Regions from separate parts of the Homo sapiens genome. Here region 2 is linked to region 1. The links are contacts of gene promoters, found by promoter capture Hi-C in blood cells and fetal thymus (Javierre and others, 2016). All regions are on one chromosome and are shown on one strand. Each heading gives the region's core, a stretch centred on a gene start or on the middle of the fragment in contact. The rest is flanking DNA. Distances are from core to core; before and after follow the strand shown.

The links. Contacts are between HindIII fragments. The CHiCAGO score rates a contact against its expected background, and 5 or more counts as called.
Region 2: the fragment with the promoter of BTBD6 here is called in contact with the fragment with the promoter of SIVA1 in region 1 in 2 of 17 cell types (erythroblasts and neutrophils); the score reaches 5.8 in erythroblasts.

The regions. Positions count from the first base shown.
Region 1 is chr14:104,749,506-104,754,460 of GRCh38, reverse strand. SIVA1 (SIVA1 apoptosis inducing factor) reads right to left here and starts at 1,314. Exons shown (of 4, transcript NM_006427.4): 1 at 1,142-1,314. The coding sequence starts at 1,259. The region is part of intron 2 of LOC107987209 (a long non-coding RNA gene); the gene reads left to right. RefSeq lists enhancers at 1,219-1,288, 1,299-1,348, 994-1,495, 2,199-2,288 and a silencer at 1,449-1,818. The HindIII fragment of the contact is 19,431 bases long and covers 1-4,955 here.
Region 2 is chr14:105,246,011-105,250,965 of GRCh38, reverse strand. BTBD6 (BTB domain containing 6) reads right to left here and starts at 2,433. Exons shown (of 4, transcript NM_001387567.1): 1 at 1,881-2,433; 2 at 1,719-1,809; 3 at 1,488-1,606; 4 at 1-1,326. The coding sequence starts at 2,254. The coding sequence ends at 294. The region is part of intron 5 of BRF1 (BRF1 general transcription factor IIIB subunit); the gene reads left to right. RefSeq lists enhancers at 436-1,225, 2,017-2,807 and silencers at 1,832-1,881, 2,082-2,641. The HindIII fragment of the contact is 26,340 bases long and covers 171-4,955 here.

The sequences.
Region 1 (4,955 bases), core at 65-2,564:
TTCAACTGTCCTGAGAGGGCACACGATTGCGGTCCTGCCACAGTTCCCACGGCATCATTCCCCTTACCTCCCCATGGCCCAGAATAGCACTCGCTTTCACAGCCCTAGCACACTGGAGACACCGCACAGAGGAACCTCGGGAGGCAGAGTCTTTCCCTCATTCCCAAGGCACAAGCGGCACCAGGTAAATCACACACCCCGGGTCATCCTCTAACTGCTCTACAGGTGCAGACTTTGTGTCCCAATCACTAGGCAAGGTAAGCTCCACTTTTTACCTGCCCCAGGGTATTAATCACCCCAGTCAGAGTGATGATCAATAAGATCAACACGCCTGAAATCCACAGGAGAAAGCCAGAGAAGGCCTGGGAGCTCACTGCCCTCACATCCCACCCAGAACTGGACACTGCAGCCACACGGAGTCCTATTTCGCTCTCCTGCTGCCTGGCTTCTGCCTCGCCCTCTTCCTTCCCTTCCTCTGCCTGGCTAACTCCTACTCGCCCCCACAGGATTCCGCTCAGACTGTTCTTCCAAGAAGCCTTCCGTGCCATCCCTGCAGGTGCGCCTGCACAAACCTGTGCCTGCCCCGACCACCTGTGGCGACTCCTCCTGCTGGTCTCCCCAACTAGGCTGGGGAGCTCCCGGGAGACGGGGCACATCTGTCTTGCCTGCCTTTGGTCTCCCGAGAAAGCCGCCGTGCCTGGCAGGGCCGCGCGCTCCATGAATACCTCTTGGGACAGGAGGGGCACTCTTCGGGTTGACTCCATGCAGGACGCCCCGCTCCCCAACCTCTCCCAGGACATCCTGCACGGGACAGTCCTGAGAAAGCACCAGGCGGGTGCCGCTCACTGCAGGGCGGCGACTAACCGGGATCGTGGAAGAGGGCGCGGGGGCTAGGGGCAGGGACCCTTTTCTTTCAGGCTGTTGGACAGGGTGGGCGAACGCTGGGGTCCTCACATCCCCCTCACTGACCCCAGCCCTGGGCGTGGCCAGCTTGTGTCCCCGCGGCCTCCCAGCTTCCGGGAACGCGGGGCCAGAAAGCAGGGCCCTCCAGCCCCCCGCTCAGGCCTCAGAGGGGACGCTGAGGCCCGGCCCGTTCCAGGCCCCGACGCAGCGGACCCTCGGCAGCCCGCCCGACACTCACCGAAGACCTCCTGCGAGTAGCGCTCGGCGCACACGCCGCGGCTCAACTCCCTCTGGCTCACGCGGACCTTGAGCTGTAGCGGGGCCACGTCCGCGAAGGGGCAGCTCCGCTTGGGCATGGCCGCGGGGCCGGGAGCTACGCAGCTCCCCGGCCGCCAGCCCCTTACCAACGACGCCGTGACGTCACAGCTGCGCGCCCATCCGCGGGCGAGAGCGGGTTTGAGGAGAGGGAGCGACGCGGCGCGTCATAGGCTGCGGGCGAAGTGGGAGGCGGGACTCCTGCGCGGAGCGGCGCGGGATAGGCCGAGGGAGAGATCGGGGGTGGGACTCGTGCGTCGGTGTACTGGACTCGACGCCGCGGGAAAGGCCAGGGGCCAGGTTGAGGATCAGGGTGGGCGGGTCCGTGGGAGAGATTTGTGCGCGCGCCGCTCAGGATAGGCGGGAGGAGAGACTAGGGGCGGGGTTCCTATGCGGCGCGAAGCGACGAAGGGTGGGAGCCAGGTCGCGGCATTCGGCTGCGCGGGAAGAGCCAGGGGGCGGGGGCGAGGCCGAGGGTCAGGACGGTGCAACGAGGGCGGAGCTTGTGCATCGGGGGCGGGCCTCGTTTGAGGATCGGCGTGGGATAGGCCAGGGCGACGTCGGGGCGGGTCTAGTTTGAGGAGCGGCGCGGGATAGGCCAGGGCAAAGTCTGGGGCGGCTGGGTCGGTGGCGGGATTCCTGTCAGCTTTTGTTTGGTTCCTAAACGGTAGACACTGGTTATAGTTCCTCATTTACTTCTCCGAAGTTAAGAGGCAGCCCGCTTCTTCCTAGCTCTTTTTTCCCCTTTAGAGACAGGGTCTCGCTCTGTCACCCAGACTGAGTGCAGTGGCAGTCTCGGCTCACTGTAGCTTGCGCCTCCCGGGCTCAGGCGATCCTCCCTTCTCGGCCTCCCCGGTAGCTGGGACCGCAGGCGCGCGCCTCCGCGCCCCGCTTTTTGGTTTTGGGTAGGAACGGGGGTTTTTCTGTGTTGCCTCAGCTGGCTTAGCTCCTCACTGTGGCGGTCTCCGCCTTCCAGAAGTAAAGGCGTGTGGGGGCTGCGCTCTGAGGGCCGCGTGCGGCTGCCGAGCGCCCCCGGGCGGGGGTATGCGCCGCTGTGTGGAAAATGTTCTTGCACAGCGGGTTCGTCTGACTTGGTGTCCCCATGCCGCGAGGTGCACCCGCGTCGTCCCTTCTCCGGGGTTCTGCTCACCAGAGGCGGCTCTCCCCTGCCCCGGCGGGTACAGAACCGACCCGTCCTGTGGCGTGGGCTTCGCCCTGTGAGAGATGACAGCGTGCTGGCAGCCCTCGCTCGCTCTCGGCGCCCACTCTGGCCGCGCTCGAGGGGCCCTTCAGCCCGCCGCTGCACTGTGGGAGCCCCTCTCTGGGCTGGCCGCGGCCGGAGCCGGCTCCCTCAGCTTGCAGGGAGGTGTGGAGGGAGAGGTGCGGGCGGGAACCCGGGCTGCACGTGGCGCTTGCGGGTCAGCGTGAGTTCCGGGTGGGCGTGGGCTCGGCGGGCCCCGCAATCGGAGCCACCGGCCCCAGGCAGTGAGGAGCTTAGCACCCGGGCCAGCAGCTGCGGAGGATGCGCCGGGTCCCCCACCAGTGCCGGCCCGCCGGCGCTGCGCTCGAATTCTCACCGGGCCTCAGCTGCCTCCCCGCGAGGCAGGGCTCAGGACCTGCAGCCCGCCATGCCTGAGTCTCCCCCCTGCCGTGGGCTCTTGCGCGGCCCCCTGCTCCGCGGCACCCGGTCCCATCGACCGCCCAAGGGCTGAGGAGTGCGGGCGCACGGCGCGGGACTGGCGGGCAGCTCCACCTGCAGCCCCGGTGTGGGATCCACTAGGTGAAGCCAGCTGGGCTCCTGAGTCTAGCGGCGACTTGGAGAACCTTTATGTCAAGCTAAGGGATTGTAAATACACCAATCAGCACTGTGTTTAGCTCAAGGTTTGTAAACTCACCAATCGGTACCCTGTGTCTAGCTCAAGGTTTGTAGATGCACCCATGGGCACTCTGTATCCAGCTAATCTGGTGGGGATTTGGAGAACCTTTATGTCTAGCTGTGGGATTGTGGACGCACCAGTCAGCACTCTGTGTTTAGCTCAAGGTTTGTAAATGTACCAATCAGCACTCTGTATCTAGCTAATCTGGTGGGGACTTGGAGAACCTTTATGTCTAGCTAAGGGACTGTAAATACACCAATCAGCACTCTGTGTCTAGCTCAAGGTTTGTAAAGACACCAATCAGCACCCTGTATCTAGCTCAAGGTTTGTAAATGCACCAATCAGTGCTCTGTGGGGACTTGGAGAACTTCTGTGTCTAGCTCAGGGATTGTAAACACACCAATCAGCGCCCTGTCAAGACGGACCAATCAGCTTTCTGTAAAACAGACCAGCCCTCTGTAAAATGGACCAATCAGCAGGATATGGGTGGGGCCAGATAAGGGAATAAAAGCAGGCCGCCCGAGCAGGCAGTGGGAACGTGTTGGTGTTCTGCCACATGTTTGGGGCTTTGCTCTTTCACTCTTTGGGTCCACACTTTTTATGAGCTGTAACACTCACTGGGAAGGTGTGTAGCTTCACTTCTGAGGCCAGCAAAGCCACAAACCCACCGGGAGGAATGAACAGCTCCAGACACACTGCCTTAAGAGCTGTAACACTCCTTGTGAAGGTCTGCAGCTCCACTCCTGAAGCCAGCAAGACCGTGAGTCTGCCAGAAGGAACAAACTCCAAACACGTCCAAACATCAGAAGGAACAAACTGCAGACATAACAATTTTAAGAACTGTAACAGTCAACTGTGAGGACCTAGTGCTTCATTCTTAAAGTCAGTGAGATCAAGAACCCACCAATTCTGGACACACCTGGACTATGTTCTCACGACTCCATCGGTGTTGCCTCCGGTGTGAAGAGGTGATGCCTGGAGTCCCGCAAACCCCTCCCACGTGACTCCCGTGTTGCAGCTGCCCACGCCCCCTCAGAGGCAGTGTATGCTTTCCTAGCCATGGGTGGCTGAAACCTTACCAGTCTCCAGCTTAGATGTCCTTTCTCCTCCTGCCGTGCAGGGTTCCCTGTGGTGGGGATGGGATCAAGCATTCTTGGCTCTTCCTTGCCACTTTGCTGGCATAATGGAGAATTTTTTCTGCCTTAGGGAAATGACTTGAAAGTTACTCAGTTGGAGTCACGTGTGACTAAACACAGATTTGGTTTATCCCAGAAATAGATGAAGTTCTCAGAGAGGAGGATTGTTTTCAATCTTATGGATCGTGGGGATTTCTAAAGATTTCCCTGTGTTCAGACTTGCAACTCTCCTAGGGTCTCATCACCATCGTGGACAGATACAGAACATCGGGCAGCTTATGGAGTGGGGCTGTCCCCCAGGCCACATGCCGGTTCCTCAGAGGTTGCTGGGTAGGATTCTGCTGCTTTAACAAACTTGCCTGGCTAACACCACTGGCTCACCCTTGAATGCCTTCCTGGGTGAAGCCATGAACCCTCCAGGGTTAAGCCCCAATTTTGGGGCTCACCTGCCCTGCATCAGATTGATGGTTAACTTGTAAAGAAACTGGCAGCTTTCCAGAGTGCTAGGAAAAAGGAAAATTATCATTAAACAAAATCATTGTCATAGTTTTCCTCTAATTCGTCTTGAGGTCTCTCCTGGAGAGTGGCTGTAAACTTTGGCCCTTCCCTGATGGGGCTCTGGGGGCGGTGGGCATGGGGTTACAGTGTGTGCTCTCGTGGGATGCCTCCTGACCCTGGCTGATGGCCTCAGGCCTGTGTATCCAGCTGTGCTGGCATTCCTCTC
Region 2 (4,955 bases), core at 1,184-3,683, 500 kb before region 1:
TCCAACCCCTCAAAGCAGGTGGCATGGGTGCCACTGGGAGGGGATCTGGGGCCTGTCTTGAGCCGTAAATCTTCCTCCACCTGAGACGTGCACCCCACTGTACCAGAGATGCCTAAGACTCCAATCCCTGGGTTCTGGCTGTGTGGAAAATGTCTCTACACAGTCAAGCTTCAGCTGACTACATGTCAAAGAGAGACAAAGTTAAGAGCAGCCTTTCATGGTGTCAAGAAGCAGTTAGCATCTTGACTTCCCCTCCACTCACTCGCTGACCTGCTGCAGCCTCCCCGGGCACCTCAGGCATAGAAAATGAGCTCAGGGATCTGCCCACCCTGGACCCCAGTCCCGTTGGTGCTGTCCGAGGAGCACTGGAACTGGAAGGCCACCTTTCCACACTGCACTTCCGTCATCCCCTCCTGCCCAAAGTAGCTGAGTTCGCTGCCGTCCAGGACGGCACTGGCCGTGTAGAAGGTGTCTTGTTCAACCTGGACCGGGTGTTCAAACCAGACCGGGAAGGTGTTACTGGATCCGTCTGACATGAACTTGGTCAAGTTCTGAGCCAGAACCACCCCGAGCCGCTTGAGCTCAATCTTCACGCTGTACTCAGCCTTCCCAGAGCTGGAGCCATACAGGCCCAGCCCTGCAATAAATACCCTTCTGTCCACTGCAAACTGGATGCTGTCGCAGCGCCCGCGGTACCGCCACTGGTTGCTGCGGTAGGCAGAAGACTGGAATCGGTGGCACCTCTGCGGGGCGAGGCCCTTCCTCTTGGTCAGGGGAAAGTCCAGGCGGGGCTTGTTGGTGGCCGTGTACCACAGGAAGATGCTGTGGGTCTCCTCCAGAGTCAGGATGTCTGACTGGGCAGCGCCGTTGGCAAACTCCTCTAGGGTCATGGTTGGAATTCGGACCAGATAGAGGGCTCGCCCCAGAACATGCCTCTTGTTTCGTGGGGTGATTGGCAGCCCCTGCCTCTTGCACTCCGCCTCGGCCCAGTTCAGGACGGCCTCGAAGACCACCGCCTCTTTGGTGTTGAGGGCCTCCCGAGTGACAATGATCTCCAGCGTCTGCCGGTCTATCTCACAGAAGCCTTCGGACCGTAGGGCCATCTCGGCCTGTGCGTCAATGACCTCCCAGCAGCGCTGCGTCAGCTCGGGCTCCTCAAACAGCCGGCTCTGGGACAGCAGGACGCAGGCGTTCTTGGCTTCCAAACTTGTCTCCAGAAAGTTGACACAGGCTTTTGCCAATGCTGGGACGATGTACTTCTTAGCAGCGTACAGAGTGGCCAGCACCGTGTCGGCTTCCAGATCGATCTCATCACTGTACATGTACCTAGGCGAGGCAGGGCCCGCGTCAGGGGCTGGCTCCCAAGCACCCATCGCGGGGCTGGGCCTGGGAGAGGAGTCCATCAGCTCCTGTGTGCTTCCCTTCAGAAGCCTCCGGAGGCCGCCTAAAACGGACCCACCCGTCCCTCCCCAGTAGAGTGGACTTACTTTAAGAGGATCAGAAAGGCTGCGGGCTCCACGTCTGGAATGTGAATTTCAGATTTGACTTCCGCCAGGTCTCCGTAGAACATGGCATAGAAGACGGAGCTGCCGACAGCCAAGACGTACTGGGAGGAGAAAGCGCCGCCGTGAGCCTGGCTCTCCCGCAGGCTGCGTGTCAGCCACACGGCGGACGGGGCGGACGGGGCACGCGTTCCGAGAGGGGCCGCCGCTACCCACCTTGTGGGCGGGCACCGTCCTGGTCGCCCCCGGGGGCCCCACGACGAAGTGCACGTCGGCCATGAGCTCGTTGTTGAACATGAGCGCGTTCCTGCAAAGGTAGAGGCACGGGCTGGGGGCGTGGGCGCGCGCGGGCGCGGGGGCCGCGGGGCACGGGCTCACCTCTCGCGCAGCGTGGGGCGGCAGCACCGCCAGCCGGGGCTCTCCTGGTGGTTGTTGCCGAGTGTGGGCGGCGCGGGCGCGGGCGGCGGCGGCGCTGGCGCGGGGGCGCTGGGCGGGCTGCGCGGCCCGGCCTTCCTGCCCACGGCGGCGCCGGCGTTGCTGTTGGCTAGGTCCGCGGCCGCGGCGCTGGCGGGAGCGTAGAGTTCCGCCGCCATCTTCGCGGGCGGGGCGGCGGGGGCAGCCTCGGCGCCTGTGGACGCCGCGCCCCGCGCCCTCGCGCCGCGCCGGGGCCTCGGGAGCGGCTCTGCAAGCAAAAGCAAGGAGGTCAGGCACTGAGCGACGCGGCCGTGCAGGCAGGCTAGGGGCAGCAGCATGGGCGGCGGCGGCGCTGTGACCCGCGGGGCTGCCACCCGCTCCCCTGCCACCCCCGCCCCTGCGACCCTGCCCGAGCCCAGCCTAGCGCAGCCCGGCCAGGCCCGGCCGCGGGGGGCGCCGTCCCGCCCGCCCGCCCGCCCGAGCCCGTACCCGCCGCGGCGCCGGTGCGTCACGCTGCGTCAGGGCCGCGCCCCGCGCGACGTCGCTGCCTCGCGGCCCCGCCCCCAGGCCCGACATCCTCGAAGCTGCTCGAGCTTCTGCCCAGCAACCGGCGCGAGCCGCGCGCTGTGCAGAGGTAGCCGTGGAAGGCGGCTCCCGGCGCTGGCAGGCGGCCGCCCCCAGACCCGCAGTGCCATGCGCAGGTGCTTGCGCCCGTTCTTCAGTTAGCGATCTTTTGGTTAGGAACGCAGGTGGACCTGCTTGTTTGGCCATTTGCATTCCGGAGTCTGCCTCTGGCCGCGGCCTGTGGGATGGTCGTTGGGCTTCCTCGTTCGTTCAGATGCTTCGCGATTTAGCTTGCTACGGACGCCAGCAGCCAGCGCTTGCAGAGAGCGCGGTCCACTCTGCTCTGAGGGCTTTACAGGGGCAGGCGCTGCTATTTCCCGGCATTTTCCTCGAGGAAATAGGCACAGAGAGGTTAGTCGCGCGCTGAAGGTCACACAGCCGGCGGGTGGGCAAGTCAGGATCTGGCCCTGGGCCTGCAGCCCTGGAGCTTGGGCCCCAGGGCGCGCCCTGCCTCTGTGGCTCTGCCTGTGGATCGCAGTCGCAGGCTCGCTCCTTGTGGGGCCTCTAGCCTCCCGGCCTGGGGCTAATCCTGGGAGGTGCGTGGCATGGGGCACTGGCTTTGCTGATGAGGAGACCAGACTTCAGAGGCCGTGTCACCTGGCCTGGGCCGCACAGCTGGTGCATGCCAAGCTCGCGTGCAGACGAAGCTCCAGAGGCCTGGCTGTCAGGAGGGTTCCTCCCCGAGGACACACACGCAACCTCCTGGACCGCCAGGCTTTAGACTTTTAAAACTTCCATATGCAGGAAACCCCACAGGACGCAGCCAGCATCTCGGGTCATGGGTGCACCTGTCACCGCAGTCCTGGGCTAAACAGTGAACAGGAGCTCTGTGTCTCTGTGGTCGTTACAGTTGTAGTGAATGTTCCCTGGGAGAGTCCTCTTCAGAAGATATTTGCGGTATTTTCAACAAAGGACTCTCCAGGATGGAGGAGCAACTACAAGTCAGGAAGGAAAAGGCTGACAACCCAGTTTTTTAAAAAACGGGCAAAGGACGTGAACAGACACCATGCAATGGCCCAGAGTGCACAAATCATCATTTCTCCCAGGAATGGGGTGCCCGAGCCCCCAGGCGGCTGAACTTGAGACTTGTCACGTAGTGTTGGTGGAATGCAGAGCAGCTGGAGATCACCTGCTGCAGGTGGGTGCGTAACTCCGCACGGCCAAGCCGTTTGGAAAGCTGTAGCATATGCATGAGAGTCCGGAAAGTTCCGAGAGAAAGTGTGTGGATGCACCCGCCAAGGACACACCCACCGAGGCCACAGCTGCGATTTCATAGTGTGGGACCCCACTGGCAAAGACACGCTGGCTGCTGTGGCCGTGGTTTCTGTCCCAGCCGTCTGTTTCCATAGAAAAAGGTAACGGGCATAAGCAGTTTCCAGGAGAAATACAAATGGCCAGAGTGGAGACAGCCTACATGTCCATCAGCAACAGAAAGGATCAGCAGGTTGTGGTGGGTCCATTTGGGGAATGCAGTGAGAAGGAATAACTTACAGCAGCACACAAGACCTGGGCGACAGCTGTCTCCGGGGGTGCCAGGATAGAATTGCTGAGCCGCCAGAGGTAGTCAGCGTCTTGATCTGCATGGTGGTGTGGAGCATGTGAATAATAATTTTCATCCTTAGAAAGAAACCACCCTTTGCACTTTGATTTTTAAATATGTTACAGTGTAGGTTGGGCGCGGTGGCTCACGCCTGTAATCCCAGCACTTTGGGAGGCCAAGGTGGGCGGATCACTTGAGGTCAGGAGTTTGAGACCAGCCTGGCCAACATGGTGAAACCCCATCTCTACTAAAAATACAAAAATTAACGGGCACCTGTAATCCCAGCTATTCGGGAGGCCAAGGAAGGAGAATGGCTCGAACCAGGGAGGCGGAGGTTGCAGTGAGCTGAGATCATGCTACTGCACTCCAGCCTGGATGACAGAGCGAGACTCCGTTGACCAGGCTGGTCTTAAACTCCTGGCCTCAAGTGATCTACCTGCCTAGGCCTCCCAAAGTGCTGGGATTACAGGTGTGAGCCACCGCGCCCAGCCTATTCTTTTTTGTTTGTGATAATGGTCATCCTAATGGACATGAGGTAGTGTCATGTGGTTTTGATTTGCATGTCCCTGATAAATAATGATGTTGACCATCTACTCATGTGCTTGTTGGCTATTTGCATGGCGTGTTTGGAGAAACGTCTGTTCAAGGGCTTTGCCTTTTTTTTTTGAGACAGAGTCTTACTCCGTTGCCCAGGCTGGAGTGCGGTGGTGAGGGTGCACTGCAACATCCGCCTTCCAGGTTCAAGCGATTCTTGTGCCTCAGCCTCCCAAAGAGCTGGGATTACAAAAGTGCAGTTTGCCCATTTTTAATCGATTTTGTTCCTGAGTTGGAGTTTTTTGTATATTCAGGCTGTTAACCCCTTATGAGATAGATGG